Regions from separate parts of the Homo sapiens genome. Here regions 2 and 3 are each linked to region 1. The links are contacts of gene promoters, found by promoter capture Hi-C in blood cells and fetal thymus (Javierre and others, 2016). All regions are on one chromosome and are shown on one strand. The core of a region is centred on a gene start or on the middle of the fragment in contact, and the rest is flanking DNA. Distances in the headings are between cores, read along the strand shown.

What was found. The method cuts DNA at HindIII sites, captures the fragments that hold promoters and counts their contacts. A CHiCAGO score of 5 or more calls a contact.
Region 2: a contact is called between a fragment that was not itself captured here and the fragment with the promoter of PLAGL2 in region 1, in 1 of 17 cell types (erythroblasts). The highest score is 9.9, in erythroblasts.
Region 3: a contact is called between a fragment that was not itself captured here and the fragment with the promoter of PLAGL2 in region 1, in 3 of 17 cell types (erythroblasts, M2 macrophages and megakaryocytes). The highest score is 6.0, in erythroblasts.

Annotation. Positions count from the first base shown.
Region 1 is chr20:32,205,180-32,209,662 of GRCh38, forward strand. PLAGL2 (PLAG1 like zinc finger 2) reads right to left here and starts at 2,564. Exons shown (of 3, transcript NM_002657.3): 1 at 2,462-2,564. POFUT1 (protein O-fucosyltransferase 1) reads left to right here and starts at 2,701. Exons shown (of 7, transcript NM_015352.2): 1 at 2,701-2,886. The coding sequence starts at 2,763. RefSeq lists enhancers at 570-619, 2,535-3,448, 2,911-3,040 and a silencer at 2,351-2,770. The HindIII fragment of the contact is 5,170 bases long and covers 1,478-4,483 here.
Region 2 is chr20:32,440,077-32,444,559 of GRCh38, forward strand. It overlaps NOL4L (nucleolar protein 4 like), which reads right to left. Exons shown (of 11, transcript NM_001256798.2): 11 at 2,983-4,483. Among named protein-coding and RNA genes, the nearest start is that of ASXL1, 84 kb to the left of the region's middle. The HindIII fragment of the contact is 880 bases long and covers 1,496-2,375 here.
Region 3 is chr20:32,421,294-32,425,776 of GRCh38, forward strand. All of the region lies in intron 4 of ASXL1 (ASXL transcriptional regulator 1), which reads left to right. Among named protein-coding and RNA genes, the nearest start is that of ASXL1, 65 kb to the left of the region's middle. The HindIII fragment of the contact is 1,744 bases long and covers 1,651-3,394 here.

The sequences.
Region 1 (4,483 bases), core at 1,314-3,813:
TTCTCTGAGGTCTCGGCTGTGTCTGCCTCTTTTTCCGCATGAGGCCTGAATAGTACTTCTTTTTTTCCTCTTTAATGTTACTTCTCAGGCCTCAGAGTGAGTTTCCTTCCTTTCCCAACATCTCCCCCAGAATGCAGTCTTCCCCTTTTCCCTCACAACTAACCCTCGGCACATCCCCTTTAAAGAGCCCCTTACTTTACCTCCCTCCAGGCACCATCTCCTGGGCCAGAGTTCTCTCTTAAGCAGAGAGCCACTTTCCTATACTCTCTTGTATTATTAGGGCTCCATATCCCAAACAGGAATGCTTGCTAAAAACTCTGTATGGTCCTCTTTGAAAGCTGAAACTGAGACATATTTCTCCCCAGTCTGTCCGTCCCCTGTTATGGGCCATGATGCCTGCTGCTCTCTGATGAAACTATAGTTTTTATGGTGTTACATCATCTCTATAGAAACTGCGTTCTTTCTCCATTATTAGCCTGTTTCCTCATCTGTAAAGCTAAAAATACTTACCTCACAGGCTTGCTGTAAGGATTATTTTAGTGAGGTATGCAAAGGGCTCAGCACAGAGCTTGGCCTGCTAGAAGTACCCAACAAAAGAGAGCTATTATCTTTGTCTTTGTATTGAGTTGCATGTTTCCACCTTCTGCTGCCACACTCAAATTCTCCTCACTCCCCCCTAAAAAACAGTTGAGAGATAACACCCCTGCACAAGGAAAGGGTTAATCTTTGAGTGTTCTTAACTAAAGAGACCCACAGAGGATTAACAGCTCCACTTCAGTGACTACCCTAAAATAGCTTTTATCCTCCTGCCCAAGAGTTACTTGGGGATCTGAAGAACTCAATTCAACACCTGCCGGAGGAAATAGACCCAGAACGTTCCTTGGGATAGAATCTTCCCTTAAGCAGAACCCAAAATAGCAACTGGGAAATTATAAATAGACTTAGAGGAAAGAAAAAACAAAACAAAACAAAACAAAAAACAGATCCTGATCTCAGAACCAGAAACAAATCCTAAAACACACTGGTTGGCTGGAAAACAGTGAGAAGAGGGGAAATGGGAATGCTGTCGCCCCCTTCCCCCCCGCCCACTCCAGAGTGGTGGGAGAATTAAATTACAGGGAGGCTGGAGAGTCTCAATGACTTGCACCATTCCAAGAAACATCAAACAGGATTAACAGGGGTTGGATTTACTCTCAGGCTGCTAATTCTTCTGTCAGTGTAGATGGGCCCTCTTTGGAGTCTCTTTGATTCACTATTTCCTCAGATTCCTGCTGCCTCCCACTCCTGGGGAGGCCTTGAACAAATGGCTGCAACTCATCACAACCCCATTTTCATGGGGAGAAAACGTGATTCGACACCCCCGCTCCCAATCTGGTGGCCTCACCTTAGGAGAGAAAGGTTAGAAACCCAAGACCAGACTCTACACACAGTCCCATGGCTGACAGGTGGAAAAACACACAAGCCAGGAGACAGGCTAAGCTTGCAGGTGAAAGCACCGATTCCCCCACACAGGTGTCCCCATATCCTCCACCTAACAGGCCCCTTTCTCCCCACCAAGGTGGGCCACAGCCTGGTCCCAGGCCAACTTTTAGATCACCCCACTGTGGTGTGGGAAAGGTTCAATTCCCCGAGCCTGGGAGAGATGGGAGTGGATGAGGGCTGGAGAAGCAAAGGAAATCCAGGGAGAAGTCTGGAGGGAGTCTCTGGGATGGGAAGGAAGAGCGAGGATGGGAAGGAATCATGAGCAACTTTCCTGGGTCTCTAAGGGATCCCCACAAGAATGAAATGGGGGATTATAAGGGCTGGAAGGCTGGGGGGATGGGGATAGTCAGAAGTGTATCCTCTGAATTTCAAGAGGGTCTCAAAATGGGTAACGGGATGGAAGATGTCGAAAGCCTGGGAGTATGGCCACTGAGGAGGGAACTACAGGTGGGGCTTATTCGACTTCTCCAGACCCAGATATTTGAGGGAAGCCTCAAAGGGAGTTATGTAAGTCTGGAAAATGAAACAGGGTACAGAGCGGGCTATCTGGAGCAGGAAAGGGGGTTATGTGGGTCTGGGTAGGCGTGTCGGAGGGAGGGAGCAGGTGCAGCTTATCTGCGTCCCCCAGACCCGGGTCCCTGGTAAGGTCAGCAGCGCCTTATCTGGGTCTCCAGGGAGCCTAGGGGTCGGGAATGGGGGACCCTCAGGACTGCGTCTCCAGGTCTCGGAAGGGAGGGGACCGGTGGCTTCCTCGGGTCCCCCAGACACAGGTATGGGGTCCAGGGAGAGTTTTCGTCACCCCAGGGCCTATCTGGGGCCGGGTTGGCGCAGACCGGGCCCCGGGTCGGGGGTGTGGGCGACCGCGCTGAGGGGCCCGAGATGAGGCGCGCCGCCGCTCCGGGTACAGGGCGCGCGGACGCAGCGAGACGGCCTCCCGCCCCTCTCCCCGCCGTCCCCTGGGGCCCTCGCCGGCACTCACCGCGCTCGGGGCCCCACGCTGCGGGCCGGGCCGCGCTCGGGCTCCGCCAGGCCCCCTCAGGCCCCGGTAGTGGCGGCGGTCGGGCCATTGTGCGGTGCATTGTGGGAGCCGCGCGAGCGGGCGCTCGGGTCGTGGAGGGGGCGGTGCCGCGGGATCTCTATGGTCCCGCCCGCCCGCGGGCTAGAGCGGCCGGGGCGGTGCGCGGGCGGCGCGCAGGGACCGCTGGGAGCGGGGCGGGCGCTCGCGTCCCTCCTTCCCTCCCCGACTGTGCGCCGCGGCTGGCTCGGGTTCCCGGGCCGACATGGGCGCCGCCGCGTGGGCACGGCCGCTGAGCGTGTCTTTCCTGCTGCTGCTTCTGCCGCTCCCGGGGATGCCTGCGGGCTCCTGGGACCCGGCCGGTTACCTGCTCTACTGCCCCTGCATGGGTAAGGCCTCCCAAGCCCTCTGCTCAGATGGAGAAACTGAGGCCGGGAGAGGAAAAGCCACTCCTCAGATGCGCCCAGAGACACCTTCACAGGTCCAGGAGAGAACCTCAGAGCGGGACGGGGCATGCTCTTCTCCTCTCTGCCTTAGTTGCAAGGGCACAGAGGGGCCAACGTGTCCAACTTTCCATTTGACAGATGAGAAAACTGAGGCTGGGAGAGGTTACGTGACTTGCTTGAGGTCTAAGCCAGTCCAGGGTCCAGTAAATGGAGTTAGTGGGGCAGGACTTGATGTCACTGACCCACGCTGGCTCCTGGTGATTTTTCATTGATTCAGCAAATATTTATGGGGCACCTATTCTGTGCCGGGCCCTGTTCTCTGTACTGGGAATACCGCAGTGAATAAGATAAACTCCGTGTCCTTGTAGAGCCTTCATTTTAGTTGGGGAAGACAAACAATTGAGAATAAGTAGGCCAGGCGCGGTGGCTCACTTCTGTAATCCCACCACTTTGAGAGACCGAGGCAGGATCACTTGAAGCCAGGAGCTCGAGATCAGCCTAGGCAACATAGTGAAAATCCAATCTCAAAAAAAAAAAAAAAAAAAAAAAGCAGAGCGTGGTATCGTGTGCTTGTAGTCCCTTGGGAGTTATCTGGGCGGCTACTTGGGAGGCTGAGGTGGGAGGATCTCTTGAGCCGAGGAATTCGAGGCTGCAGTGAGCTCTGATCGTGCCACCGCACTGCCAGCCTGGGTGACAGAGTGAGACCCTGTCTCGAAACAAGCAAACCCAAAAAGGGGTAAACATAAAACAATAAATACATAGTTTCATAGAGGATGATGAATACTAAGGGAAAATAAAGAGAGCAGGGTAGGGGAGAATCTAAAGACCATGCCAGGTGCACAGTTGAAATGGGTATGGTGGATCATCATTGTGGAAGTGGATGATCTTAAGGCCCCCAGTGGCTTCCAGACTCCTGACCATGACTTTCAGGGCCCTGAATGATGTGGCCTCCACTGGCCATCTCCACAACTCCCTTCTCTGCTGATCCTCCAGCTGCAGCCACACTTAACTCCTTTGCGTTCCTCACACATGCTCAGGTCTTCCAGTCTGCACTGCTGCAGGTGGCGGTCCCTATGCCTGGAATCCTCTCCTCCATTTCTGCCTGACCAGCTGTTTCCCATCCTTTAGATCTCAGCCTAAATGTCACCAGAAAGGATTTCACTGACCTCTACCCAAGTAATCTCCTCATTACCCTATCACCAAACTTTTTTCATCTCTTTCTGGCAATTATCAACATTTTTCATGTATTTGTTTACATGTTTAGTGTCTCTGCAGTGAACTGTGAGTGCCTTAGGGGCAGAGGCCTTGTCCTTCTTGTTCATTCCTGTATCCCAGCACCTAGCACAGAGTCTGGCACATTGTGGCCTCTCAATCATATTTGTGAAATGAATGAACAGGTGCCATGCTGGGATTAAGAAAAGGAATCACACAGGGTCCTTGCTTCTGAGGCATTCACAGGCTGAGGAATCAGCCAGTACGAAGGCCAGGAAGTGAGCAAAGATACTTGAGGAAAATTGAAGAACTGAAGTAGCTCAGAGCC
Region 2 (4,483 bases), core at 686-3,185, 230 kb after region 1:
TGAGAATTGATGGTTCGGAGGCCCTGTAGTGACTGAGCAACTGCCTGCTGTTGGTGATATGTCCTTGTGTCACAGAATCCATTTGCCCACTTATGTCTGCAGGAGCTCAGAATGCATTACGGTCCCAGATCGGGACCTTCCAATGCCTGTTGCCTCTCCTCAGGGAGGCAGAATGGTGTAGTGAGTTCCTAGAGTATAGCCTCTGCGACGTGCCAGCTCTGTGTTCTTGGGCCATGTTATTTAACCAGGCTGCCAACTCTCATATATGAATGGGTGTAATAGTTCTTACTTCATGAGGTTGTTAGTGCCTGCCACCTAGGACATAATGACTATTAGTTCACAGCAGGCCAAGGCAATAATTGTTAGGTGAACTTATAGTAGAAATCTATACAGCTACTGCCAGCTACTTCACTCTTGCTCCAGAAAGGAGCTGTCAGGATGTAGGCCTTGTGCCCACTGCGCTGAGGGGTGATGCAGGCTGTGAAGTCACTTTGGACCCTGGCTTTTGGTCTCAGGCCACAGACCTGACCAAAGGTTGAGTGTAGTCCTGAGTTTAGACTGAATATTTGGTCAGGAAGGCTTATTTTGCTCATGGTCCAAAGGACAAGGGAAATAATGTTTCAGAATATAGGAAGAATGGTACTGGCCTGGCAAGGTGTCATTTATTTGCTATCCAGCCTGCTGTAAGACTGTGTTAGAGTGTGTGTGGGTATGTGTGCATGCTAAATAGAGCTGCCTGCATCCATCAGGGGTCTTGATGGCCAAAGCATCTGCCTGCCCTGTCTCCCTGAGAGGAGGGGACCCAGGCTGTGTTGCCCTCGTGTGGGTGTTGTTTGAAGCCATAGAAGTGGCAGGATGTGGAACTTTGGAGATTGCTCCAAAATTGGACAACACCCCTATGCTTCCTCTTGTCTCTGGTCAATTTGAAAGCCTAGAATGAACATCTCTACCGTAAGCCATAGACGAACGCCCTGTGAGAACAACAGTTGTCAGTGCTGTGTTACCTGATATGGGTGGGTCTTAACCTTTTTTTGGGAACTCTCCCCCCATGGAATGCACATACAAAGTTTTTTGGGGTTTTTTTGCAGACTCTCACTCTCTTCAGGCTGGAGTGCAGTGGCGTGATCATAGCTCACTGTAGCCTCGAACTCCTGAGCTCCAGTGGTCCTTCCACCTCATCCTCCCAAGTAGCTCAGGCTACAGGCACGTGCCACCATGCCCAGCTAATATTAAAATTTTTTGTAGAGACTGTTGCCCAGACTAGTCTTGAACTCCAGGCCTCAAGCGATCTTCCCGATCTTCCCGCCAGCACACCTGGCCTCACAAAGTTTTGCATACTGTGTCAGGATTTACCAGCTCCTTAGGCAGCTGGGGCCCTTTGTTTAAGAACCACTGGCTGAGAATAAACCTAATAAAATCTGTGTTTATACAAAAGATCAATTAAGGGAAGATAGGATTTTGCAGAGATTCTTCTTGCAAAGAAATGTAACTACTAAGCTTCCCTAGTGCATTTTAAGTTGGAAAAATAGCATATGCATGTTTTCCTATTTTTCATAAAGGGAGGTTTGCCTGTTTTGTCATTGAATACATTTTAGTTCACTCTTCTGAGGGGACATTCCCATTTGATGAAGTCTTTTATCCACTGTTAACAACAGTGGTGCGGAGCCCCCAAAGGAGCCAGACTAGAATAAGGGAGCACTTTTCTGCCCTCAGGCAATTTCTCCTGGGAATCTCAGTGCTCTGGTGGACTGCAGTATTTCCTGTGGAAGGAGGTAAGTGTTTGCAGGGCTGGCCAGCAGGCCAGCGGGGTCCATGTTCTGGAGCTGTTGTCACAGGTTGTGGGTTTCTAATAGTCTTAATAGTTTGAGGAGTCTCAGTGGTGATCATTTGAGGCAGGAGAAGGAATTTCCGTGGTATTAACTGAGGATTTGCTGCCCCTCAGCAAAAGGAAAGCGGCAAGGGAGGTGTCAAGGGCCATCGTCTTCTGGCTCTCAGTGAGTCTCAGCCCCAAAGTCATGCCCTTCTCCATTTTATGTATTTGGCTACTGCACAGACTTTCTATGAGAAAAAGGATTCTTATGTTATTTAAAAATCAAGGTTTTAATAACTGCCATAAATGTGTATACATATATATGTATATATGTATGTGTGTATATATGTGTATATGTATGTGTATATATGTGTATATGTATGTGTATATATGTGTGTATGTGTGTATGTATGTATATATATGTGTATATATGTATGTATATATGTGTGTGTATATATACACACACACGGAATTTTAGCAAATGTATGCTTTTAACATGCCTAAAGTTGTTTTTAAATCCATGATCATGTTGGTTCCCAGCCATATTCCTACCATTTTTCCTTAAAGCTTAACCTAAACCATATATATAGGATGAAAAAAAATTAGCACAAATAAGTATCTTTGGGAAAAGCAGCCCTTTTGTTTCCTTCAAGGTGGGATCCAGGGTTTTGCATAGAATGGAATGTGCAGCACTGAAGGTTCAGAACCAGGGATCATGTTTGCTCAGTTTTCCAAACTAGCACTTAGGGATTGTTATGGGAATTTGGTTTCAGTCAGTTGGCCATGTGCTAGGGTGAGAGGTTGTGGAAAAGCTACAAGTTTTTTGCTGGTCACTGAATTTCAGCAAGGCGTGTACCCCGTGTGCCTCTGTGTCTGCACGTGGCGGGTAAGGGAACTGAGATTTAAAACAGTGCATGAGAGTTCTGCCTGTGCTCAGCAACTGAAGGGCACCTGGGAAAGGTTCATTTCCTTCCCTTTCTAACAGATGAGGTGCTGGAATTACAGGTTTATTTGTTCTAGAAAATGTACTGAGGACCTTCTGTGTGCCATACTATTGGCTAGGAAAAGGTGGAATCTACTAGTAGAAAGATGTTTCGGTGCCCAACTAGATGAGGAAGGATGAGAAGTGGCAGGCGGTGCTGCTGTTGATAGGACACAGTGGAAGCAGAGCATTCGGTTTGTTGTTCAGTGTTTATTAAGTAGATTCAGTCTTATATATGATATACAGATTCAAAAGGAAAAGGATTCCACATACTTATGAAATCAGTGCATTTAGCAAGTAATACCATGGAGATAACAGCTCGATTAACAGCTCATTGGTCTTTTGTTAAGTGAGGGAGAGAGGGAGTCGGCCTGTGCTAGTCATTCCACAAACAAAACAGAATTTAGTCACATCACGTAGAGAAGACACATTCTAAGAATTAAAATATTAAGCCACATTTACTGGTAAAACTCACTATATAGAACACAAATAATTTTTATAGAGAGCATTGAGGAGGAAGTCCTCACCTGCTTAGAAGAGCCACGTTAAGTTGCATAGGTGCATATCTGTAAAAATATAATTTAGAGGTGAAGCCATTAATAGAGTCACCTTTAAAAGTTGGTGCCATCCACTGTTTGCCTTAAGTGCTTACTATCTGGAGCCCTGTGCCCCTCCCCGGAGGTGGGACCTCATGAAGGAGCTGCCCCCAGAGGAACCCTGAAGAAATGGCTTGTACTATCTGCACTGAAAGTCTTAAATCTCATCTCAGATATGGAACTCATGCTCTTCCAAAACATGTCTAAATTATGCCAGAGGACTAAAGACCTCTTGGGTTGTCCCTAAATCCTGGATGGCTTGATCCTGAAGGCAACATGAGTCATTCTGACCTTCCCACTCCCAGGCTGCCCAGGGAAGAACTACATTCATCCCACAGCTCTGCAGCAAAGTCCTGCCTTCCCTTTTCCTCTGTCCATGCAGTTACCCACCAGCAGCCAATAAGAGGTCTCTCTTCTGACTCCTGCTCCTAAATGGACCACATAATTGAGGCATATGGGCCATCTACCAGGTGGAAAGTGTTTTTCAGCCAATCTGAGTTCTACGTGGTATAGGTTTTTTGTTGTATTTTTAGGTGGAAACGTAGGTAAAAAGTGAGAGGTTTTTGTTTGTGGCTTTGCTAAGCAGATGAGCTTAGTGAGGTGCATCTTCCTCCTCAAGAGCAAGTCTTGCAGAACACACAGGGACTGGGGGCATCTGTACATGTAAACAGTACACTTTCACTGAGTCCAAAATTAGGAGCAAAAATACAAAGGTTCACATTGGTCTTAGGTAGATACAGGCGAAAAAGGATTGAGCTGTTTAGCTCAGAAACAACAAAAACAAAGTTTCTAAAGCACCACTAAATTATATAAAAATCAGACCATGGACGGATTGAAACTGGTATTCTGGTGAAATACTTTACTATTTTGTAAAAAGTTTTACAAAAAATTACAAATTAAAAGTATCAACCCTCTGAGTTCAAAGCAGCATTTTGAAAATGAACTGGTAGTTAATCCTGTAACCACCCTTAGAGTTGTAAGTGGCCCTTGGGAATAGGGATGGATGGGTTCCACCTGTTTGAAATCCTCGAAAACCCTCCTAACTCCCTGCCTGTCCCCCTCCCCGTCAGCACTGTCCTTGGGAATAAACTGTCC
Region 3 (4,483 bases), core at 1,273-3,772, 220 kb after region 1:
AATTAAAATGAAAATCATTGAAATCTAGCACTCTGAATTAAAATTAAAACCACAATGAGGTACCATTATACTCCCACTAGAATGGCTAAAATAAAACTGCCAGCTTCAAATAATGGTGAGGATTTGGATCAACTGGAACTCTCCTCAAGTGCTGTTGGGAGTATAATTTTTTTTTTAATAAAGTTAGCTTTCATCCATCTTATGACTCGGCATTTCTACTCCTAGATAGTTATTCAGGAGAAATGAAAACGTCTCCAAAAATTTACAAGAATGTTCATAATAGCTTTATTCATAATAGCTAGAACCTGGAAATAACCCAAATGTCCATCAAGAGAGAATATACAAATGGTTGTATATGAGAATATTAGTCTGTAATAACAAATAATGAACTACTGATGCATGCAACAATGTAGATGAATAGCATAAACAGGCTGAGTGAAAGAAGCCAGATACAAAAGAATATATATGTATGAGTCCATTTACATGAAGACCAAGAACAGGCAAAAGTACGTTATGGAGATAGAAGTCAGAACAATGATTGCCTTCGTGGGGTGAGAGGGGTGGTTTCTTTTCTTTTTTTTTTTTTTTTTTTTGAGACGGAGTCTGGCTCTGTCACCCAGGCTGGAGTGCAGTGGCGTGATCTCGGCTCACTGCAAGCTCCGCCTCCCGGGTTCATGCCATTCTCCTGCCTCAGCCTCCCGAGTAGCTGGGACTACAGGCGACCGCCACCACTCCTGGCTAATTTTTTTTTTTTTTTTTGTATTTTTAGTAGAGACGGGGTTTCACCGTGTTAGCCAGGATGGTCTCGATCTCCTGACCTCGTGATCCGCCTGCCTTGGCCTTCCAAAGTGCTGGGATTACAGGTGTGAGCCACCGCGCCCGGCCGAGAGGGGTGGTTTCAAATGGGGGTTGATTAGGAAGGGGCACAAGGAAACTTTTGGGGGTGTTGGAAATGTTCTATATCTTGATATGCATTTGTTAGAACTCATTAAATGGTACACCTAAGATCTGTGCATATCACTGTGTTTAAATTAAACTTTAATTTAAAAAAATAGGGGAAGGATAGGAGGAGGTATACATTGATCCAAGGGCATTCTCCTACGTAAGCACAATACAGTTATCACACTCAGAAAATTTAACATTAATGCAGCATTACCATCTAGTATGCAGTTCACATTCAAATATCCCAGTGTCTTGAAATTTGCTGAGAGTAGATCTTAATTGTCTTCACACTCCCCATCTCACACTCTCCCTCTCATGGTAACTGTGTGGTGAAGGATTGGTTAATTTTTTTTTTTTTTTTTTTTTTTAAAGACAGAGTCTTGCACTGTCTCCCAGGCTGGAGTGCAATGGCATGATCTTGGCTCACTGCAACCTTTGCCTTCCAGGTTCAAGTGATTCTTGTGCCTCAGCCTCCCGAGTAGCTGGGATTACAAGCGTGCACCACCATGCCCGGCTAATTTTTGTATTTTTAGTAGAGACGGGGTTTCACCATGTTGGCCAGGCTGGTCTCGAACTCCTGACCTTGTGATCCACCCGCCTTGGCCTCCCAAAGTGCTGGGATTGCAGGCATGAGCCACCGTGCCCGGCCTATAGAATTTTTTATATGTAGGATTTAGTGAAAGATCACCCATTATTAATTTTTTTAAAAGCTTCATGATGAAAATTATTCTTGTAAAATGTTAAAATCTTGAATCCTAGGGCATGTTTTCTGGCACCTGTTATTTTCAGTAACCCATTTCGTTTTTGTCAGACATATAGGGTTAATGTATGAAAAGTCAATTATGTCAAACTTATAGAGTTTATATGGAAAGATTAATGATCTTTTACAAATGCAGAATTGGCTGGATGTGGCTAATTGTAGAATTGGCCTGTAACCTAGCACTTAGGGAGGCTGAGGTGGGAGGATCGCTTGAGTCCAGGAGTTTGATTTTTTTTTTTAATTTTTTATTTTTTGAGACAGTCTCACTCTGTCGCCCTGGCTGAAGTGCAATGGCATGATCTCAGCTCACTGCAACCTCCACCTCCCAGGTTCAAGCGATTCTTGTGCCTCAGCTTCCCAAGTAGCTGGGATTACAGGTGTGTGCCACCATGCCTAGCTAATTTTTTGTGTGTGTGTGTATATTTAGTAGGGGGGGTTTCATCATGTTGGCCCAGGCTGGTCTCGAACTCCCAGCTTCAGGTGGTCCCCCCATCTCGGCCTCCCAAAGTGCTGGATTACAGGTGTGGGCCACAATACCCAGCATTTTTTATTTATTTATTTATTTATGTATTTGAGATGGAGTTTCACCCTGTTGCCCAGGCTGGAGTGCAATGGCATGATCTTGGCTCACTGCAGCCTGCATGTCCCGGGTTCAAGCGATCCTCCTGCCACAACCTCCCGAGTAGCTGGGAATACAGGCATGTACACCACACCCAACTAATTTTTGTATTTAAGTAGAGTCAGGGTTTCATTATGTTGGTCAGGCTGGTCTCGAACTCTGGACCTCAAGTGATCTGCCTGGCTTGGCCTCCCAAAATGCTGGAATTACAGGCTTGAGCCACTGCACCTGGCCAAGCCCAGGACTTTGAGACCAGCCTGGGCAACAGACCAAGACCCTGTCTGTACAATAAAAATTATGCAGTATTAGAATAGCAAATCTTACTCTTAAAAGTTTTGTTTTCCTTGTCTTTTTACTGAAAATGCATGGCTTTAGAAACTTCTGGGTAGTTTGAATTGCAGACAACCAGGCCCTATTCCTGTTTGTTTAACTAATGAGATTTGTAAACAGTACTTGGTTTCCCCAGACTCTAGGACCTAGAGGAAGGAAATTTTGATTTAGCTCTTGGTAAAGCATTTAACACCTAATTTTTCTTTTTCATTGTTATTTTCTTGATCACAGAAAACAATACATGTTAATAGTAGAAAATACCCACAATTGAAAAGAATATAAAGCACTTACTAAAACTCTACCACCTAGGCTAGGTACGGTGGCTCACACCTGTAATCCCAGTACTTTGGGAGGCTGAGGTGGGTGGATCACCTGAGGTCAGGATTTCAAGACCATCCTGGCCAACATGGTGAAACCCCATATCTACTAAAACTACAAAAATTAGCTGGGCGTGGTGGCAGCCACCTGTAATCCCAGCTGCTCGGGAGGCTGAGGCAGGAAAATCGCTTGAACCCAGGAGGAGGAGGTTGCAGTGAGCCGAGATCATGCCGCTGCACTCCATCCTGGGTGACAGAGCGAGACTCTTGTCTCAAAAAACAAACAAAAAAACTGCCACCTAGAGATGGTGGTGGCCAACAGCTTAGTAAGAATTTCTCTTGCATTTTTCTATGCAAACACATTCAAATTTTCATTTTTTAAAAAAGATGATAGAATCATACTGTATGAATTTAATTGCCTAATTAAGCTTGTGTATCATCGTTTCTCTTGTCATTAAATGCTGTACAGCTTTCTTTTAAATGGCTATCTGTGGTAGTGTTCCTTGAAGGAAATACCTTAAAATTTTTTGTTTTTAAACTTTTATAATTGTGGGAATGTAATACAGTGAATGCATAGGACACAAATGTTCAGCTTAAGGAATTATTATAAAGTGAACACCCTGTAACTGCCACTTAGATCACGACATCAAATATGGCCAGCAGCCAGGCGCACCTCCCCTACCCCCCACTGCCCCTTCCCAGTCACAGCCCCATTCTTCCAGCTGAAGGTAACTTCTGTCTTGACTTTATGAAAGTTATTTTCTTGCTTTCCTTTAGATTACCTACCCGTCTTTGCATTCCTAATGCTGTAGTTTAGTTGAGCTTATTTTGAACTTTTCACAAACGGAATCATCAACTATGCATTATTTTGTATCTGGCTTTCATTCACTATTTTGTTTTTAATATTCATCTATGTCGTTAGTAGCTATAGTTCATTCATTTTTTGTTGCTGTATAATCATCCATTTATTGAATGTACTACAATTTGATTCTGCCTTTGGCAGCCACTTTGATTGTTTATAATCCAGATTTCAAATGCTGCATCATGAACATGTGGGTTGTGATTTGTGTAGATGTGCATGTACTTCTCTAAGGAATCCAAGCCTAGGAGGGACGTTGCTGGGTCAGAGGATGTTTGTATCTTCAACTGTACCAGATAAGGCCAAATTGTATTCTCAAATGCTTGGATCTGTTTTCAGTGTACTTGTTCTACTCCTAATTAACACTACTTGATATTGTCAAACTTTAATTGTAGCCATTCTGATGGATGTGGTAGTATCTCATTGCGGTTTTAATTTGCATTATTTTGCATTTTCCTTATTGTTAGTGAGATTAAATACCCTTTTATATGTTTTGGCTACTTCAGTATCCTCTTGTGCAGTGCCTAATTCACATCTTTTATTTTTCTTCTGAGTTGCCTTTTGCCCATTGATTTATATTTGTTCCCCCTCTCTCCCCGCCCCCAAGAAGGAGTCTGGCTCTGTCACCCAGGCTGGAGTACAGTGGCACAATCTTG